5 separate regions of the Homo sapiens genome follow, and all the other regions are linked to region 5. The links are contacts of gene promoters, found by promoter capture Hi-C in human tissues and cell types (Jung and others, 2019). All regions are on one chromosome and are shown on one strand. The core of a region is centred on a gene start or on the middle of the fragment in contact, and the rest is flanking DNA. Distances in the headings are between cores, read along the strand shown.

What was found. Contacts are between HindIII fragments. The study calls those that stand out against the background at their distance.
Region 1: a contact is called between the fragment with the promoter of ZNF7 here and the fragment with the promoter of VPS28 in region 5, in 1 of the 25 tissues and cell types used here (spleen).
Region 2: a contact is called between the fragment with the promoter of ZNF251 here and the fragment with the promoter of VPS28 in region 5, in 5 of the 25 tissues and cell types used here (IMR-90 fibroblasts, dorsolateral prefrontal cortex, lymphoblastoid cells and 2 more).
Region 3: a fragment that was not itself captured here is called in contact with the fragment with the promoter of VPS28 in region 5 in 1 of the 25 tissues and cell types used here (dorsolateral prefrontal cortex).
Region 4: a fragment that was not itself captured here is called in contact with the fragment with the promoter of VPS28 in region 5 in 3 of the 25 tissues and cell types used here (dorsolateral prefrontal cortex, lymphoblastoid cells and spleen).

What each region holds. Positions count from the first base shown.
Region 1 is chr8:144,826,307-144,829,006 of GRCh38, reverse strand. It overlaps ZNF7 (zinc finger protein 7), which reads right to left and starts at 1,447. Exons shown (of 5, transcript NM_003416.4): 1 at 1,398-1,447. It overlaps LOC100130027 (a long non-coding RNA gene), which reads left to right and starts at 1,967. Exons shown (of 5, transcript NR_147501.1): 1 at 1,967-2,700. RefSeq lists enhancers at 218-743, 744-1,269, 1,270-1,795 and a silencer at 1,127-2,256. The HindIII fragment of the contact is 13,991 bases long and covers 1-2,700 here.
Region 2 is chr8:144,754,101-144,756,800 of GRCh38, reverse strand. It overlaps ZNF251 (zinc finger protein 251), which reads left to right and starts at 1,270. Exons shown (of 5, transcript NM_138367.2): 1 at 1,270-1,396; 2 at 1,998-2,105; 3 at 2,480-2,609. The coding sequence starts at 2,073. All of the region lies in intron 2 of LOC107986986 (a long non-coding RNA gene), which reads right to left. The HindIII fragment of the contact is 22,211 bases long and covers 1-2,700 here.
Region 3 is chr8:144,773,803-144,776,502 of GRCh38, reverse strand. ZNF34 (zinc finger protein 34) reads left to right here. Exons shown (of 6, transcript NM_001286769.2): 6 at 1,898-2,700. Among named protein-coding and RNA genes, the nearest start is that of ZNF34, 12 kb to the left of the region's middle. The HindIII fragment of the contact is 3,662 bases long and covers 1-2,700 here.
Region 4 is chr8:144,727,500-144,730,199 of GRCh38, reverse strand. All of the region lies in intron 4 of ZNF251 (zinc finger protein 251), which reads left to right. Among named protein-coding and RNA genes, the nearest start is that of ZNF251, 27 kb to the left of the region's middle. The HindIII fragment of the contact is 6,507 bases long and covers 1-2,700 here.
Region 5 is chr8:144,427,105-144,429,804 of GRCh38, reverse strand. VPS28 (VPS28 subunit of ESCRT-I) reads left to right here and starts at 1,257. Exons shown (of 10, transcript NM_016208.4): 1 at 1,257-1,316. It overlaps TONSL (tonsoku like, DNA repair protein), which reads left to right. Exons shown (of 26, transcript NM_013432.5): 26 at 469-1,030. The coding sequence ends at 662. RefSeq lists a silencer at 1,082-1,431. The HindIII fragment of the contact is 10,135 bases long and covers 1-2,405 here.

The DNA of each region.
Region 1 (2,700 bases), core at 198-2,697, 400 kb before region 5:
CCAGAAGCCCAACTTCCAGGCTAATCAAGGGGGTACTGTGCTCTCTGCTCCTTTACCTCCAGCCCCAGATTTCTCTAGCAGGGACATGGGGCTGGGCTGAAGCAGCCATGGCACTTGAGTGAAGGAGGCCCACTGAACTCTTGTTCCTCTTTAGAGTGTATGTGTGTGTGGCATGTGTGACTCACTCCACAAAGCCGTAAGAAGTGGATGCCACGTGCCAGGCACTGAGTAATGGGGATACAGTAGTGGACACGAGGACCCTGCCTTCACGAAGCAGTCTGGCGGAGGAAAGAGTTAAATAACCACACAAATAAGCACACTGCAACCACGACAGCGCTCAAGTACAGGGAACTATGAAAGCCACTTAGACTAGAACGTTCAGTGTAATGGGTCACTTCCCCAGGGACCTCGGCCAAGGTAATGGAGGTGGAGAGAGCACTCCAGGCAGCAGGAATAGCATGTGAAAGGGCCTGAAGCAAGAAGAAATGGGGTTGGATGAACCAGTGTGGGTAAATTCCCGGCAGCAAGGGAAGGCAGTGAGCGACTGGAGGTTGGGGAAGGCAGTGAGCGACTGGAGGTTGGAGAAGGCAGGAGCAAAAATGACAAACTGTAGGGAAGACAAGAGTGGACATGGAAACCCCTGCCCTCAAGTACATAAATTCCAGTCTCCAGCTCACCTGTCGCCAGGATGGAACCAGGCACAGGGATGTAATCTGATATAAATCGTTCACCTCAATTAAGCCAATGACCCCAGACCCTCTACCTGCCCAGGCATTCCCCCGGGAGGTCGGAATGGGAAAAAGAGTCTTCGTATGGCAGCTTCTGGCCCAGAAAGTGGTTTGTGGGTGGAAGCCCCAGGTCACCGGCACAGGTAGGCTGATCCCCCCACCTGGCTCCTGACAGTAGGAATGCCCGGAATAGCAACCAGAATTTAGAGAAGACAAACAGCCTACCCCACCCAAGGCACCGTTCCTTCCTCCACTGTCACTTATCCTAGGCCTTCCGGGGCAATAAATAGAAAGAGAAAAGGCTCTAGAAGGAGGTGATTTCGCAGGAGGAGTCAGGGCCCCGGGAGTAGACCCAGGCCTGAAGAAAAGGCCGCAGCTGGAGCTCGCCTTACTCAGGCCCCGGACACCGTGGCCGCCACGAGCGGGGTCTGCGGGGAGCTGCGAGACTCGGCCAAACGAAGCCCACCTCGCGCCGCCGCGGGGGAGGGTGGCTGGGCTCGACCACCTCCCACACCAGGCGCTCAAGGCCCCGCAAAGCCCCCGCGCTTTCCCGCCTGGAGGCCCGGGGGACGCGGGGACCCCAATGCCGAAGGCGGGAGGGCTAAGGAAGCGACCAGGGATCACTCGGACCGAGGGCAACCCGAGTCCGCGCCCGCCGCGCCGACTCACCCTCCCTGAGGACCACCCGAGGCTCGCAAACGCGCGACGCCGCCGGAAACGGGCCTTGGCCACCCGCGTCCGCCCCGCCCCGCAAACTTCCGGCCGCCCTGGGCCGCTCGGAGGCCCGGCCATCTCTGTGGTTCTCAGCCCCGCCTCCCAGGCTCCGGAGAAGGGGTGGAGTCAGAGCCGAGGAGGGGCGAGGCTGGGGCCCGAGGGACAAGAACCTGGGCGGGACCAGAAGCCCAGATAGGCGGGGCTGGCGCCTGGGGGCGGGGTACAGTCAGAGGCGGGCAGGGGGCGGAGCCGCGAGGGAGAGGAGGGCCCAGAGCCCGGAGTGGGCGGTGCCTGAGCAGGGGCGGGGCGGGGCCGGGGCCTGGAGCTGGGGACGCGGGCCGGGGCCGGGAGTTGCGGACTCGCTGGCGGGTGGGAGGAGCGGAGTCGGGGCGAGGCTGGCGGAGATCCAGGGGATCGCCCGGTTGGGCCCTGCGCACCCCGGATCACCAGCTTCGGGCGCTGGTTCCCACCGAGGCTGTTCAGGCGCCGCTCCCCCGCGTCCCTGCGACAGGAGGCGCCTGCTGGGCGCGCTATGGACCCCGCCTCGCGGAGACGCCTGGCTCGGGCCTTGTCCCCAGTGAGCGGCTGGAGCGGCCGCGGGGTCGCAGAGCCTCCGGGACCCCGAGGAAGGGCGCCCCTCGGAGTTGCCCGAGGCCGGGCCCGGCGTCCACTCGCCACTCGCCTCGCCCCTCCCCGGCCCCGCACCGCCCTCCACCCCGCCTCCTTCGGGTTCCTTCTGCGTCCGGCAGAGCCTGCGCGCCTCCCCCGGACGGCCACGGACTCGCAGCCTCGGCGAGGACGCTGCCTGCGTCCCGACTGCCTGGACCTCCCCGCGTGGCTCCCGGCGAAGCCCAGCAGCCGGAGGGTGCCAGGTCCGCCTGACGCGCCCCTCCCCACGGGAAGAACGGGGCGGGGGTCCAGGAGGGACGTAAGCCGGGCTCCCCCGGCGTGTTGATCCGAACCCGCGCGGGAAAACTTGCGCAAACCAAAGGAGGGAAGAGTCAGGCAGCCCCCAGCCCCCCAGGGAGGCCCAGGTGAAAAACAGACGCCGGCCTCGCCTCTCCCGGTGCGGATGATCCCGGCACTCCCACCCCCGCCCCTGCTGCCCCGAGTTCGGCTCCCTCAGCCCCACATCCTCTCTGGTCATCTAAGTGGACTGCAGCTGCTCAGGGAGCATGTCGCGAAGGATAGGGAAGGACAGGGGGTCTGCTTCCCCAGCCGCCCTCCAGACCCCCAGGGCTGGTAGGGGCCGGCAACC
Region 2 (2,700 bases), core at 21-2,520, 330 kb before region 5:
CTTTGTCATTTTTGTTATTTCCATAGGATAGATTCCTAGATTAATTGAAGTGTTTAAGGCTCTTTATGTACAGCTTAATTCATTTTCAACATTGTACTAAACACGCTTCCTCAAGCATAGCAGTGCGTAATTCTCCACAATCTCCCCAGCACTGATATTAATAATGTAAGGCATCTTCTTAATCATGTGTGACTTTGCATGGTGCTTTAGACTTCTAGACATTCTCCATCCTCGTTGATCGTCTCAAGTTCAGATATAAAATTTCTGCCTTGATTCTAACACAGTGTACAGGGCCTACACTATATTCTGGGTGACAAGATGGCTTGGCTTTCCTTTCCTTCTCCCCCTGCTCCTAAGCTGGTCTCCTCACCTTTATCAAGTGCTATTTTTTCAACCATGCTTTATTGTGTAGGGGCCAAAGGGAAAGTTCCTCTTTGCCCTCTGAAGGTTCACTGAAAGCCAACTCATAAAAGGCAGATTTTTGGAGAAAAGGCAAATAAATGGATTATTTATTTATTTATTATTTATTTTTGAGATGGAGTCTCGCTCTGTCACCCAGGCTGGAGTGCAGTGGCGCGATCTCGGCTCACTGCAACCTCCGCCTCCCGGGTTCAAGCGATTCTCCCGCCTCAGCCTCCGGAGTAGCTGGGACTACAGACGCCCGCCACCACGCCCGGCCTTTACCGCCAGTTTTCACACAGAAAAGCGGGGGGAACATCAGAGTCGTGTTTTTAGGTTTTGTGGCTGGCTTTGGGGGTCTGGCCTCTGGGACTCGCCTTGGGTAAAAGGGATTCACTCTGTGAGGAGCCTCGCGGGAGAAAAGAACTGAGACTGGAGGCCTGGGAAGGTCAGAGGGAAACTGCCTCCCAGGCCTTCATTTTGGGGCGTTGTGTTCTGAGCCCCGATAATTGTAACATCTTCATAAGCGACTTTCTGGTGGTTATGGTGAATCGGGACACACGATGTATGGTGACCGACGGGGGAGCCGGGAGCCCAGCGGGGTTAGGGTTCAGGTGAGGGTTTAGGGTCGGGGCGAGCGCGGCGCGGCCCGGATGCGCAGCGTCACCGCGCCAGACCCTCCGCTCAGCTGCCGTGGGCTCTCCCCCTCCCCGACCATAGACGGCGCAGGCCTCCAGTCATCCCAGAGCGGCCCCGGAAGAATCCGGGCGGAACCGCGGCTGGCTTCCGGTTCCCGGCGTTCTCGGAGGCGTACTGAGGCCCCGCAGGGGGCGGGGAAGCCTGCGTGTGCGCAGCTCGGCCCGGCCCGCCCTCTTCATCCTAGCCCGCCCCCTCCCCGGCTCTGGACCCGGTTCTGTGGGAGGGTCCGTTCCGGGCTCGGTGCGACTGCGCAGCTCCTCGGCGCTTCCTCGGTGGCTTCCCCGGGTCGAGCAAACAGGTGGGGCAGTGTCGGACCAGGAAGGAGCGCCAAGCGGGCAGGCAGGCGGGGAGGGCGCGGGGAGGGCGCGGGGAGGCGGCGGCCAGTCCAGGAGGAGCCTGTTCTGGGTGCCGCGGGAGCCACCGACGGGCTGCAGAGGCCGGGAGGAGGCGACCGCGGCGCGGCCCTAGAAGGCTGGACTGAGGACCACAGCTGGCTTCCGGCCTCTCCCCGGAGCCTGGGGCCTTCGGCAGCATCCCCGCGGCCTCCTTCTCACGTCCTCAGCCTTGGTGAGGCTGCACCCTCACGTGGCTCTTTGCCCCAGGTTGGCCAGGCAGGTAGAACGGCCCTGCACCCCATTTCCAGGGCCTTCAGCAGGTCTGGACCACGGGAACTGCCAGCTTTCACCCCTTAGCCGGGCGTCCCTGGATCCCCCCGGGCTCTGGCTCTGGCCGTTCTGGGATTTCAGGAGTCACTGAGCAGTAGGGCACGTCGGCCCGTGCTGCATAGTGACCTGCCTCCCGCGACCCAGGAGGCCACAGCAGCAATCAGCTTCTGCCTCCTGGCCATCCTTCCACACCCCTGGTTGAATGGGGCTGAGCCTGAGTTCTCCCCACTGAAGGTAAGTTCGGGGAGACTTCAGGCCAGGGCAGTCTCCTGTCTTCTCTTGGAAACCACAGCAGCCCATGCACACAGAATGGCAGCCACATTCCAGCTTCCAGGGCACCAGGTGAGTTAACCCTCCTTCCTGCCCACCTCTTCATCTTCATCCCCATCCCAGTCAGAAGCTACTCTCCTCTGGAGCCGTGAGCCCGGCAACTGGTAAGGCCAGCCAGGGGCTCATAGCAACCGTGAGGAAAGGGTTCTGAGAGGTAGACTCGCCCTCCTGCAGGGAGAGGGGCTCTGAGCTCAGCTGGGTCCCCGTGTAGCTGAAGTTGGCTGGTCCTCAGCGCTCTCAGCTGCCCCATCAGGGACCTGCTGATACACAGTTCATACTGACCACAGCAGGGCCCTGGGTAGTGGGGCCCCACCAGGTCAGGGCCCTTTTAGTGCAGGCTGCTGCCCCGTGGGCATGGCCTGGGCAGCGGCGATGTTTTGTTGCAGGAGATGCCGCTGACCTTCCAGGATGTGGCCGTGTACTTCTCTCAGGCGGAGGGGCGGCAGCTGGGCCCCCAGCAGCGGGCGCTCTACCGGGATGTGATGCTGGAGAACTATGGGAACGTGGCCTCTCTGGGTGAGGCTCTCTGCACTTGGCCTGGTTCGCAGTGGGGGCCTCTGAGGAGCTTGGGAGGCTGCTTTGGCTCTTTGGATCCCAAAGAAGAGGG
Region 3 (2,700 bases), core at 58-2,557, 350 kb before region 5:
TCAGCCTCCTGAGTAGCTGGGACTACAGGTGCCTGCCGCCATGCCTGGCTAATTTTTGTATTTTTAGTAGAGACAGGGTTTCACTGTGTTGACCAGGCTGGTCTCAAACCCCTGGGCTCAAGCGATCCTCCCACCTTGGCCTCCCAAAGTACTGGGATTATAGGTGTGAGCCATTCTTTTTTTTTTTTTTTGAGACAGAGTCTTGCTCTGTTGCCCAGGCTGGAGGGCAGTGGTGTGATCTCGGCTCACTGCAACCTCTGCCTCCCAGGTTCAAGCAATTCTTTTGCCTCAGCCTCCCCAGTAGCTGGGACTACAGGTGCACGCCACCATGCCTGGCTAATTTTTGTATTTTTAATAGAGACGGGGTTACACCGTATTGGCCAGGCTGGTCTCAAGCTCCTGACCTTGTGATCCGCCTGCCTTGGCCTCCCAAAGTGCTGGGATTACAGCCACTGTGCCTGGCTGACACTGCTTCTTAACAGAAATGATAGTGTGTTCTGCTGTGCAGACACGGAATGTGTTTCCATTTCTGTGCGCATGAGTCTCAGTCATGTCTTCAGTGCAAGTGCAGGCCAAAAGATTGGATAGCTCTGATGGTCACCTTTTTGCATGTGTCTGATGGTGTCTGAGGAAGGAACTGCTGGCTCAAAGGACTTCTTATTTTGTAAATTTGCTTATTTGAATGTAAATATCTATAGAAATAGGACAAACCCTAAGTTTATAACTCAGTGAATTTTTATGAAAAATCATCCTTCAGATTAAAATACAGACTGTTTCCGCTCCCCAGGAGCTCCCTGGCTCTCCTCTGCCATTTCCCACTGCTCCCCACAGGGGTCTTCTTTCTGACTCCTGTCACAAGAGGCTGCTTCCTCCTTTGGATTTTTCTGTGTAGACTCACACAGGGCATCTTTTGCTGAACACTGTGAGAGCTGCTTGTGTTTCATGGAGTAGCAGTGTGGTCTGTTTGGTTGCCATTGTTCTATTGTATGAACACACCACAACTTATGTTCCCTTCTACTTGTGGAGGACATTCAGTTGTCCAGGTTTGGGGTTGTACAGGAACTGCTGTGGACACTCTTGTGCATGTCTCTCTCTGGCGCCCGGAATACATTTCTGGCGCGTGTGTACCTGGGAGCAGAGTCACTGAGTCAGCATTTTCATAGATCAGCTTTAGATAAGGTTGCCAAGCCGTCCTCCAAAGCAGCAGCTCCAGCATAGGCTCCTGTAGTAGTGTGTGAGCACCGTCTGCTGCACATCTTGGCAGATATTGGTGTTCAGCACCTGTTCATGTGCAGTGCAGAGCCAGGCAAGGGGTGGAAGGATAGACCCCTTAGGACTAGGAAGAGAGCAGTAATGAAAGTGGCAGTCATGAGGTGCTTGCACCTGGAACTCACTGTGCTGGGCACTGGGCTGAGTGCTTCATGGTCAGTCTGTTGTATTAATCTGTTTTGTTCTCATGAGAGTGCCATGTGGTCACAGATGGAGAAACCAAGGCTCAGAAAGGTAGGTGAGTTGTTGCCTCAGGTGACTCAGCTGGCAAGTAGGGGCCAGGACTAATCAATCCTGACTGTGGCTGCTGGTATCAGTCTCTGAGCGGCCATGTGGCAGGACCCCACTTGGGTACTTGTCACTCTCCATTCTTGGGGAGTGGCCACCCAGGAGAGGTTTGTTGTGTGAGTGTCAAATCAAGGAAGGAAGGAGTGAATGTTTGAAGGGCTGTATGACTGTGGCCCCAGGTGAGCTGCATAAGCCTCTGAGCTCCAGGCTCTTATCTTTGCAAGGCTGTTGGGACTTTGGAGATGATCAAATTGGTTCCCCACAGGTGGCCAGCAGCATCTCATGCCTACCTTCCAGAGTCAGAGCAGGTGACCCTTAGATGTTCTGTTTTTTGTTTCAGCTCTTGGGACCAGAACTGAGTACAAGGAGTTGACTTCACAGGAGACATTTGGTGAGGAAGATCCCCAGGGATCTGAGCCAGTAGAAGCCTGTGACCACATCAGTAAGTCAGAGGGGAGCCTGGAAAAGCTAGTGGAGCAGAGAGGCCCCAGGGCAGTCACACTGACCAACGGGGAGAGCAGCAGGGAGTCTGGGGGAAACCTCAGGTTGCTGTCAAGACCTGTTCCTGATCAGAGACCTCACAAATGTGATATATGTGAGCAAAGTTTTGAACAGAGATCATATCTCAACAACCATAAGCGTGTACACAGGTCAAAAAAAACAAATACAGTTCGTAACTCTGGGGAAATCTTCAGTGCAAACTTAGTTGTTAAAGAAGATCAGAAAATTCCTACTGGGAAAAAATTGCATTATTGCAGTTACTGTGGGAAAACATTCAGGTACAGTGCCAACCTTGTCAAGCATCAGCGGCTTCACACTGAAGAGAAGCCCTACAAATGTGATGAGTGTGGGAAAGCCTTCAGCCAGAGCTGCGAGTTCATCAATCACCGAAGGATGCACTCAGGAGAGATTCCCTACCGGTGTGACGAGTGTGGGAAGACATTCACCCGGAGGCCCAACCTCATGAAGCACCAGAGGATTCACACTGGGGAGAAACCCTACAAGTGTGGGGAGTGTGGGAAGCACTTTAGCGCCTACTCTTCCCTGATTTATCACCAGAGAATCCACACCGGAGAGAAACCCTATAAATGTAATGACTGCGGGAAAGCCTTCAGTGATGGCTCAATCCTTATCCGACATCGT
Region 4 (2,700 bases), core at 177-2,676, 300 kb before region 5:
CGCGCCTGGAGGGGCTTTAGGCCCGGTGGATAAAACATGGCTCTCCACTTCCCTGTTTGGTTCCTGAGTTCTCTTTTGGCACTTTTCAGCCGACTCTGGTGATGTACGAAGGGAGAGGCACTGCTGGGCCTGCCATACAGCTGCACAGTGAGTGAGCGGCCTCGAGTTGGTGGGTGAGGGCACCCGCTCCTGGGAACAACGCCAGCCCTGGGTGGGCTCAGCCCTGCCTGCAATGTTGAGAAACTGTTACAATTGAACATCTTTATCTGAGTAGTCACAAAAAACACATGTAACCTGTTGATAGCCTGATGAGAGATCTGTTTTGGTTTTGGTTCTTCAGAGACAGGGTCTCACTCTGCTGCCCAGGCTGGAGTGCGGAGGTGCGGTCTCAGCTCACTGCAGCCTCCACCTCGTGGGCTCAAGCTCTCCTCTCATTTCAGCCTCCCAAAGTGCGGGGATCACAGGCGCGAGCCACCATGCCCATCCCAAGAGATCTATTTTTAAGCGGGCAGTTACGTTGATATGAGACATCAGGGAGGACCCTGGCATTTAAAAGGAATCTTAGGCCGGGTGCGGTAGCTCACGCCTGTGATCCCAGCACTTTGGGAGGCCGAGGCGGGTGGATGGCGAGGTCAGGAGATCGAGACCATCCTGGTTAACACAGTGAAACCCCGTCTCTACTAAAAATACAAAAAATTAGCCGGGCGTGGTGGCGGGCGCCTGTAGTCCCAGCTACTCGGGAGGCTGAGGCAGGAGAATGGCGTGAACCCGGGAGGCGGAGCTTGCAGTGAGCCGAGATTGCGCCACTGCACTCCAGCCTGGGCGACAGAGCAAGACTCTATCTCACAAAAAAAAAAAAAAAAATAAAAATAAATAAATAAAAGGAATCTTATATGCTTGCTAAAAGGGCACTACGCATGGAGAAAATGACATAAAATTTTGTTTTCGTTTTTATCCCAATTTTTCTTTTGACTTTTATAACCAGGAGCTTTAGGAGTAAACTCGTATTTTTAAATTTTAACATGAATATAGGTCAGGCACACTTCATTTTATTCCACTTCACTTTGTTGTGGCTTTGCAGATACTGCTGCTTTTTTTTTTTTTTTTTTTCCATAGATGGAGTCTTGCTCGTCGCCCAGGCTGGAGTGCAATGGCGCGATCTCAGCTCACTGCAACCTCCGCCTCCCAGGTTCTAGTGATTCTCCTGCCTCAGCCTCCCAAGTAGCTGGGATTACAGGCGCGCGCCACCATGCCTGGCTAATTTTGTATTTTTAGTAGAGACAGGGTTTCACCATGTTGGCCAGGATGGTCTCAAACTTCTGACCTCAGGTGATCTGCCCCCCTGGGCCTCCAAACTGTTGGGATTACAAGTGCGAGCCACTGCGCCTGGCGAACATTTTTTTTTACAAATTGAAGGTTTGTGACGACCTTGTGTTGAGCAAGTCTGTCAGTGCCATTTTCAACAGCACGTGCTCACTTCTTTGTGTCACATTTTGGTAATTCTTGCAGTATTTCAAACCTTTTTTTTTTTTTTTTTGAGACGGAGCCTTGCTCTGTCGCCCAGACTGGAGTGCAGTGGCGCGATCTCGGCTCACTGCAAGCTCCGCCTCCCGGGTTCATGCTATTCTCCTGCCTCAGCCTCCCGGGTAGCTGGGACTACAGGCGCCCACCACCACGCCCGGCTAATTTTTTGTATTTTTAGTAGAGATGAGGTTTCACCATGTTAGCCAGGATGGTCTCGATCTCCTGACCTCGTGATCCGCCCGTCTCGGCCTCCCAAGGTGCTGGGATTGCAGGCATGAGCTACTGCGCCTGGCCTCAAACCTTTTTTTTATATCTGTTATGGTGCTCTGTGATCTGCGATCTTTAATGTTGCTATTGTAATTGTTTCAAGGGCACCATGAACTCTGCCTGTATGAGACGGTGAGCTTAATCGATGAGTGTTGGCTGTCCTGACCCACTGATCAGCCATTCCCTACCTCCCTCTCTCTCTCCTAGGGCCTCCATATTCCCTGAGACTCAGCAATATCGAAACTAGGCCAATTAATAACCCTGGAATGGCCTATAAGTGTTCAAATGAAAGGAAGAGTCACACACCTCTCGCTTTATTGCAAATGTTAGAAATGACCAAGTTTAGTAAGGAAGGTGCGGTGAAAACTGAGACAGGCCAAAGCCAGGCCTTTTGCGTCTGTTAGCTAAGTTGTGAATGCAAAGCAAAACTTCTTCAGGCGTGGTGGATCAAGCCTGTAGTCCCAGCTTCTCAGGAGGCTGAGACAGGAGGATCGCTTGAGCCCAGGAGTTTGAGGCTGCAGTGAGCTATGATCACACCACTGCACTCCAGCCTGGGTGACAGAGTGAGACCCTGTCTCAAAAAGAAAATAACAGTAAAAAGTAAAGTTCTTGAAGGAAATTGGGAGTGCTATTCTGGTGAACATATGAATGACAAGAAGGTACAGCAGCCTTATTGCTGATATGGAGACAGTTTCAGTCCCCCTCAAACTGTCTGGATAGAAGATCAAACCAGACACATTCCCTTAAGCCAAAGCTTCGCCTCAAGAGCAAGGCCCCAACTCTCTTCAATTATGCGAAAGCTGAGAGGGGTAAGGAAGCTGCAGAAGAAAACCTTGAAGCTGGCAGAGGTTGGTTCATGAGGGTTAAGGAAAGACGTAGTCTCCATAACAAAAGCACAAGGTGAAGCAG
Region 5 (2,700 bases), core at 8-2,507:
TCACCTCCCAGGGCCAGGCCGCCTTTTCCAGGAAGGCCCCCGAGTGCTGGTGTGAGACCCCTTCCCCACACCTCAGTTCCTGGCATCTGTACCTTCCCACCCAGCTCCCTGAATTCCTGAGCTTAGTGTTCTCTTGATCCACTCAGGCCCACGATGTACAGATTTGCAAGCAGATCCATTATGTCCTTCTTATGGGTGGGGAGACTGACGTGTAGGCATGGACTTTGAGATCGGGCACTGTCAGAGGTAAAGAAGGGAGCCACCCTTCCTCCTGTCTGACCGCTGGCTGTGCAGATGATCCCACCCCTTCCTGGAGAGTCATGGGGCCTCTCCGGAGCTCTGCCCACTGCCCCTCGCTACAGCCCTGGGGCCCTCAGCGAAAGCGAGTTTGTTCCCTGGAGCCTGCCGCGGGCACCAGGACGCCGCCGGCCCCCGCAGCGCTGAGGTCTGCCCTCTTCCCCTCCGCAGGCTGCGCCGTCCAGGGTCCCCTGGGCCTGGGCCTGTGGGACAAGATAGCCGCGCAGCTCCGGGAACTGCAGCTGTGCAGCAGACGCCTCTGCGCTGAGGACAGGGACGCCCTGCGCCAGCTGCAGCCCAGTCGGCCGGGCCCCGGCGAGTGCACGCTGGACCACGGCTCCAAGCTCTTCTTTCGGCGCCTCTGACCCTGGCGCTGCCTTTCCCCACCCTCACCGAAGCCCCTAATAAATGAAGCTGCTGGCCGGGCGCGGTGGCTCACGCCTGTAATCCCAACACTTTGGGAGGCCCAGGCGGGCGGATCACGAGGTCAGGAGATCGAGACCATCCTGGCTAACATGGTGAAACCCCGTCTCTACTAAAAATACCAAAAATTAGCCGGGCGTGGTGGTGGAAGCCTGTAGTCCCAGCTACTCCGGAGGCTGAGGCAGGAGAATGGCGTGAACCCGGGAGGCGGAGCTTGCAGTGAGCCGAGATCGCACCACTGCACTCCAGCCTGGGCGACAGACCGAGACTCCGTCTCAAAAAAAAAAAAAAATAAAATAAATGAAGCTGCTGCCTCCCTCCCCGTGGCTGCCTGGCAGGCGGGTGGGCGGGGTAAGACCGGGCTTCGAGTCTGCTGCGCCGGTTACGTCCCGGGGGCTGCGCGGCTGGAGGGAATGTCCCGAAGTCCGGGCGGGCGCGGGCGCAGGCGTGAGGGCTGAGCGCCGAGCTGCCGATGGGGACGGAGGGGCGGGGGGTCGCCCCGACGCGCGCAGGCGCAGACATGAGGGGCGAATGCCGAGTCGCTGACCGAGCGCACCCCGCCCCCGGCGCCATCTTCCCGACCGCGAGCCGTCCAGGTACCCGGGGCCCGGCCGGTGGGCGGGGAAGGGGCAGAGTGGGGAGAGGCGACTCAGGGCCTGGCACCCTCTGGGCGCGCCTAGGCCCCGGCACAGCTTCGGCTGAGCGCCGCAAAAGTCACGTTATTGGCATGTTCTAGAAACTGGCTTTCCTTGCTCGTTGTCCACTCTGCGAGGTTGTTTTGCACATTTGCTTGTGGCCGCAGAACGTCCGCTTTCGCTGTTAGGCAGAAGCTCCTGCGTGGTTGGGGCGGTTGGCTCCTCGGCGCTCTCCTGCCTGGCGGCTCCGTGACGGCTGCCGAGCAGCCTCGGTCCCCACCCCGCGGCTCGCAATGGCCTCGACCCTCGGAGAGCTTGACCCAGACGTTCCCTACCTACATGAGCGGCGACGCCCTTTCCCGGCTCTTCCTCGGCTGGGGCGCCCCAGGGCTTCGGCGCGGGCGGCCTTCCCTCACTTCTGCTCTTCTCCCATCCCCGGTAGCACCGTCCACTCCCAGTTAGCCGGCTCAGCGCTGCTCTCCCGGGCCTCTCCACCGAGAGCTTCCTGCGCCTGCCCGCCAGGCCCGCTCCTCCTCCCCTCTCCGTCTGAGTTTATCTTACTGCCCGGCCCATTGGGCCAAAAACAGGGGTGTCGTTCGTAACTCCTTTATTTTAATCCTATCTCAAATCCCTCGGCGGATCTGACGGCTCCACTTTCAAAGAGAGAACGTCTGGAGCTGGCCCAGCTTCCGTGCTAGGCAGGACCCTCCCACGGGCCCCGCTCCCATTGTTTCTCCACAGCTCGCTGCCCAACTAGGGGCACCTCTCCATCTTCATTCCCTAGGACCCCCTCTTTCGAGAAGCTGCACCTTCAGCTTGTTGGTTCCTCCAAGTTCATGCCTACTTAAAGGCGGGCTGTTAAGTGTGTTGTTTCCTGTGCCCCAAACTCTCCTCGTGGGCCATCAAACAGCTGCCTGCCGCCCTCATAACCTCCCTCAACCTCCAGCTTGAACCACACTCCACTGCAGCCCCCGCCCCGCTCTCCTGAGTGTCCATAGTACCTCACTTTTTCTGGTAGCCCCTATAGCACCCTGTGTGTTCACCATTATTGAGCTTAGGAGAGCTCTTCATGGAGCCCTGGGTCTCCAGGACCTGGCACTTACGGGCTGTCTTTTTTTGTCGGTTTTTTTTGTTGTTCGTTTGTTTGTTTTGAGACAGGGTCTTGCTCTGTCTCCCAGGCTGGAGTGCAGTGGCTCGGTCTTGGCTCATTGAAACCTTCACCTCCTGGGTTCAAGCGATTCTCCTGCCTCAGCCTCCTGAGTAGCTGGGATTACAACCGTATGCCACAACGTCCGGCTAATTTTGTAATTTTAGTAGAGACAGGGTTTCACCATGTTGGCCAGGC